Linked DNA regions of Homo sapiens: region 2 is linked to region 1. Evidence: promoter capture Hi-C in 16 types of primary human blood cells and fetal thymus (Javierre and others, 2016). All regions are on one chromosome and are shown on one strand. Each heading gives the region's core, a stretch centred on a gene start or on the middle of the fragment in contact. The rest is flanking DNA. Distances are from core to core; before and after follow the strand shown. Region 1 holds the start of BMP1 (bone morphogenetic protein 1). Region 2 overlaps XPO7 (exportin 7).

Region 1 (2,824 bases), core at 1-2,500:
GAGGAGCGCTCGCGCTGACCAGGCGCTGGGGCGTCCACTGAAGCGGGGTCATCCAGGCAACTCGGGGGAGGGGAAGCTCACAGACCGGTACTTCCCACTCCCCTGATTCTCTCTGTCCATCCTCAACATTCCTTTGCTTCACAGGGTCAGTGGAAGCCCCAACGGGAAAGGAAACGCCCCGGGCAAAGGGTCTTTTGCAGCTTTTGCAGACGGGCAAGAAGCTGCTTCTGCCCACACCGCAGGGACAAGCCCTGGAGAAATGGGAGCTTGGGGAGAGGATGGGAGTGGGCAGAGGTGGCGCCCAGGGGCCCGGGAACTCCTGCCACAACAGAATAAAGCAGCCTGATTGAAAAGCAAAGGGTCTGCTTCTGTCTTCCTGCAGGGCGCAGTCCTGCCCTGGCGGGGGCCGGCCAAGAAGGGAAGGGCCTTGGGAGAGCAAAGTGGGGTTTGCCATTCGCCCTCTGTCCCAGGGCGCTGGGGCACTGGGTCCACCTCGGCGGGGGAGAGGGGCTCGCAGGGAGCCATCCACGGGCTTTCGGCGCCCTCCAGCGGCGTCTCCGGAGGAGGGAGAGACACCAAGACAGCGAGAGAGACAGAGCGCAGAGAGCGAGACGCGAGAGAGCGAGGGTCCAAGAAGGGGAGATAGGGAGACGCGGGCGGAGAGACCGACCCGAGGCGGGGGCGCGGGGCAGGGGCGGCGCGAGGACCTGACAGCGTGTCCCGCGGCGGGGCGGGGGCTCGGCCGCGCGCCCGCGGGGGAGGCCGCCGCTAGAGGGCACTTCAGGAGGGACAGCCCTCCCGGCACCCCGGGGCCCGAGCTCCAGCCCCGGCCTCGCGGCCCGCGGCCCGCGGCCCGGGCGGCCCGAGCCCCCTCCCCGGGCGCGCGGCTCTCCGCCTTCCCCGCCCCGGCTGGCGCGCGGCCCGGCCCGGCCGAGCACTGTCCCGGCCCCGAGGGGGGCAGAGCTCGGGCGAAAACCCGCCCTCCAGCGAGCTCATTTCCCTAAAAAGGGGGGGGGGAGTCGGAGGGAGGGAGGGAGGGAGAGAAAGAAAGAGAGAAAAAGAAGGAAAGGGAGAGGGAGACGGCTGGAGCCCGAGGACGAGCGCGGAGCCGCGGACCGAGCGGGGGGCGGGAGACAGGAAGGAGGGAGGCGAGCAGAGGGAAGGGGAAGAGGTCGGGGAGCGAGGGCGGGAGCGGTCGCGGTCGCGATCGAGCAAGCAAGCGGGCGAGAGGACGCCCTCCCCTGGCCTCCAGTGCGCCGCTTCCCTCGCCGCCGCCCCGCCAGCATGCCCGGCGTGGCCCGCCTGCCGCTGCTGCTCGGGCTGCTGCTGCTCCCGCGTCCCGGCCGGCCGCTGGACTTGGCCGACTACACCTATGACCTGGCGGAGGAGGACGACTCGGAGCCCCTCAACTACAAAGACCCCTGCAAGGCGGGTGAGCGCCCCCCGGCCCCCCGGCGACGGGCCAGGCGGGGAGGCGCGGGCGGGTTCGGGCTTGGGGTTGGGGGAGGACAGTCCAGTGTGGGAAGCCGGGAGCTGCCTGGTTGGCAATGCAGTGGGGAACAAAAGAACGAGGGGGAGAGGGAGGGGGATTTGGGGGACTTTTCGGACTGAAGTTTTGCCGCTGTTGGTGGAAGCTGCTGCCGCTGCCTCTCATCTTCCCAGAGGATTCCAGAGGAAGTCTCCTTGCGTCCCGGGAAAACCGGCGGGCAAGGCGGCTTTTCCTTCTGTAGGAAACTTTTCTGGCCAAACTCCTGTGCGTGCGTGTGTGTGTGTGTGTGTGTGTGTGTGTGTGTGTGTGTGTGTGTTCTTTCCCCTTCTCCCCCATCTCTCCTGCTCCAGGAGCTGGGTGTTTTCCAGCCTGTCTGGGCTGCCCTGGGGCTGCACATCTGTCTGGCTTGGATCTGGGAGGCCTGAGTCTCCAAGGAGCAGGTCCCCCAGCCACCACCCAGCCCAAGTGGAAGAAGAAAGTTTTTCCAGGGATTCCCTGAGATCGTGCTCTCTGGGTATCCCGTAGTTTAACCAGTAGCTGAAGCTTTCTGGGACTTAGGAGACAGCTGTCAAAGTCAGAGAAGCCAACCCAGAAGGGGGACTTAACTTTGTCCCTATGTGCCCAGAGACCCCCGCCAAGGCCAAGTTGGGGTGGAAAGAGGGAAAATACAAAGAGAACCCAGATATTGTATATCAGCTCTGTCACCCCCGAGACACCAGAGGCTAATTAGCTGAGGTCAGGACCCCGGAGTGTGTGTTTGCCTGTATGTGTGTGTGTTCTTTGTCTCTGAAGACTCTATGTAACCCCATCACTCCTGCTGAGCCCAGAAGGGTCCTGCCCCTGGAGTGACCAGATGGCCAGGCACTCGGGCCATTTGCCTGATTGGATGACCCTGGGCAGGCTGTTTGGGGACACACAGGGACAAGATATCAGAACTTTTCCTTGACTTCCTGCCTCTCTGACTTCAGCTCATCTCCAAATAGCCAGAGCCAGGGGAAGTGGCATAGTTGCTAGAACTGGACTGCCTGTGTGGGGCACCAGGGGCGGAGGGGCAGGTTGCTCTAGTCCTGGCTCTGGAGACCCTGTTCAGGGACTCTCCTGGGAGGGTGGCCCACAGGCAGGAATAAGAGACCATCCAATGGAGGAAATCAGGGCAAATCCCTCAGCCCTTACCCCTCTACACCTGCTGGGCTGCGGGTAAACCAGGACATTTGCTGTCATTTTTCTCGCTGGGGGCTGGGAGTGGGTACAGGGCAGAGTGGACTGCGCATGGACTTTGAAGGCAGGCACATCTAGCTTTCAATCCTGACCCTGCTACTCATTATAGCTGTACCA
Region 2 (2,824 bases), core at 161-2,660, 240 kb before region 1:
TCCGTACAACTTTTGAGAATTTTAAATGGAAAAAACATAACTTTTCTAACTTTTTTCCAGTTCGACTAATACCAGAATGCTTAGTGTGTGCAAGGCCCTTTCTGTGCTGGGCACTTCAGAGGATTCAGAATGAGAAAGACACTGGAGCCAGACTGCTGAAATATCCAATTCTGATGCTCTTTTGGCAGGCTTCAGGAGCACACACGTAGATACAAGAAAGAATACATTGATTTCAAAACATGCTACATCTGTGTTGGGTGATAAGCAATAACTATATCCCATCACCCACTCCCACCCTGATTATACCTCTTTCGTGGGTTTATACAAATAATATGTGTGTATTTTATTTCATTATTTTACTCCTATTCAACACCACACTGGAAATGTCTGTATTTAAAACATATATATCTATATATTTACTTGATTACTCTGACTTTAGTATATTTCCTGAGAAGCCTTGAGAAAAATTAAGGGATGTATATATACGTGTGGGATCATTCAAACACTTAACACAGAAAAAACAAAATACAGTACAGTGATGGAAGAATCTCTAATTTAGATGAAGGTATAGAAAGAAGTATCAGGAAGATCCCTGTTCTATATCTTACAGAGAAATTAGCTTCCATTTGACCCAGAAATTGATGTTCATAACCACCAGCTGTATTTTCTTTTTTCTTGGTTGGGTTTTGAAAGCAATATTGTACCACAGCCTTTCGAGGTGGGAAAGTTGCCAGTTTAAACCAATAAGCTAATGTCTCTCTGTAGGTACAACTACTGAGGCTACTTTGCCCACTTCAGTATGTGCAAGGAAGATAGTGTTTTGAAACTGCATCTTTTTAAAACACCTAACATTATCTCACATTTTCTCAGGGTTAGGAATCTGGGAGTGGCTTAACTAGATGGTTTTGGTTCAGGGTCTCATTTGCAGTCAAACTCTCAGCTGGGGCTCCGGGCTGCAGTCAATCTCAGGGCTTGACTTGAGGATAGAGAATTTTCTTTAGGTTTACACACAGCGGGCCTGGTCAGGCCTCAGTTCCTCACTGGCTGTTGTCTGGAGGCTGCAGTTCTTTACCAATGGGCCTCTCCTAGTGCATCATTTTTAAGGACTTCATTAAATTCTGTAATGATATATGCTGTGTATAAGTGACCCATCTTTGTTATTTTTTTCAAAAACTTTTTATTGAAATATATACCTGCAGACAGGTACAGAAATCATATGTGTTCAGCTTGATGAATTTTCACAAAGTGAATACTCCTTACTAACCAGCACCCAAATCAAGTCAGTATTATCGGTGCCCCAGAAGTCCCCTGATACCATCTCAACAGCTACCTGTAGCCCCCCTCCCCCCCCCACCCCACTAACTACTATCCTGTCATTTTATTTTTAAATCTGCTTTTAGAACTCAAGCTGAGTAACCTGAGAGTTTTAGCTTCAAAGCCAGGGGGAGAAGCAGTACAGAGCAGTGATTATACAGCTTTGGGGGGATTTATTTCATAATATGATGGAAGCTATGTTACTGCTCTCTGGTGGGGGTGGGGAGAGTGTGCCTACACAAAATTTTACCCACAATTTTAGGCCATTCATGAACCTTGATAACTAGAGTTTAAATATATGTTTCTTTTTAGATGAAAATGCTCACAACATTTTATTGAGAAACTGATTTACAAGTATTTCTCTTTTGACTTATTTGAAAAGCAAGTTCAGGACCACGATAAATGTTCCTGGAGAGTTACATGCAAGCTGAATTTTTAAATATTGAAATAAATTCTTGAGGATGATTAATGGTGACCACTTAAGCATCTACTAATATCCCATTTTTGTTACTGTGCAGACACATAGAAGGAAATACAAGATGTGATATTCTACTTCCAGGGCCTTACATTGAATTGAGCATCACAACAAGCCTGGTCATTGAGTTGTGAATTTGTAGTGAGACTGGTTTTGTCGACATGTCCCTGAATGGGGGGCAGTCACTACCCCGTTATCTTTTCCCCCATTCCAATACATGTCTGGAATACATTCATTCCTAACATTTATAGTGACTCATTACTAGGAAATTCTCAATGGAATGGGATTGGTACCCAGGAGGCATATCAAAATCTTGGGGGAGGGAGAGAGTTGTAAAAAACCTAGATCCTAAGTATTTCTGATATTTGCTTCAATGGCTGTTCACCCCTTCGCACATGTGTGCATGCACACAAGGACACACACACACTCCTACTGCCATAAAATGGGAAGGATGTATTTAAGAGAAGGCAGAATTGGAAACTTCATGCTAGCATTAATTGATATCATTTAATGCTCACCGCAGCAATGTAACATCGGTATAGAGATAATAGTAATAGAATTTTCCTTGAAATAAGCTGATTAAAAGACCTGGTATCCCTGGAAGACTGGAGAACTCGCTGTTGGAAGATTTAGATGATGTTCATGGTGGTGGTTATTGTAAGACTTACTGGAGTGTGACTTGGTTGGTCATAGGGAAAGGGGGATACCAGTATTAACTGAGTGTCTGTTATATGCCAGGCACCATGCTAAGCCTTTTATAGTGTTATGCCATTTAATTGGGAAACTCGTTTGGTCTCTGAGCCTGGATTAAGTGATCTGTGAAGTCCCTTGTACTTCAAGCATTCTGGATGGGATTTCCAGTTGTCATCCTTGTATTCTCTCCCCAATATAGCACCGTGTTCTCAATTCATATGTACATGTTTGTAAAATTCCTTAAAATATTTATGCTCAAACCAACATTTCCATTTTATCTATCTTAAATATATCTTCCTCTTCTTTACGCCTAATTTCTTAAACTCCCAGAGTTTTTTTCTG

Evidence for each region. The method cuts DNA at HindIII sites, captures the fragments that hold promoters and counts their contacts. A CHiCAGO score of 5 or more calls a contact.
Region 2: a contact is called between a fragment that was not itself captured here and the fragment with the promoter of BMP1 in region 1, in 2 of 17 cell types (naive CD4 T cells and fetal thymus). The highest score is 6.3, in naive CD4 T cells.

Annotation. Positions count from the first base shown.
Region 1 is chr8:22,164,122-22,166,945 of GRCh38, forward strand. BMP1 (bone morphogenetic protein 1) reads left to right here and starts at 1,251. Exons shown (of 20, transcript NM_006129.5): 1 at 1,251-1,432. The coding sequence starts at 1,285. SFTPC (surfactant protein C) reads left to right here. Exons shown (of 6, transcript NM_001317778.2): 6 at 145-358. RefSeq lists a silencer at 507-1,546. The HindIII fragment of the contact is 3,783 bases long and covers 1-2,030 here.
Region 2 is chr8:21,923,105-21,925,928 of GRCh38, forward strand. All of the region lies in intron 1 of XPO7 (exportin 7), which reads left to right. Among named protein-coding and RNA genes, the nearest start is that of XPO7, 4.9 kb to the left of the region's middle. The HindIII fragment of the contact is 4,070 bases long and covers 1-2,824 here.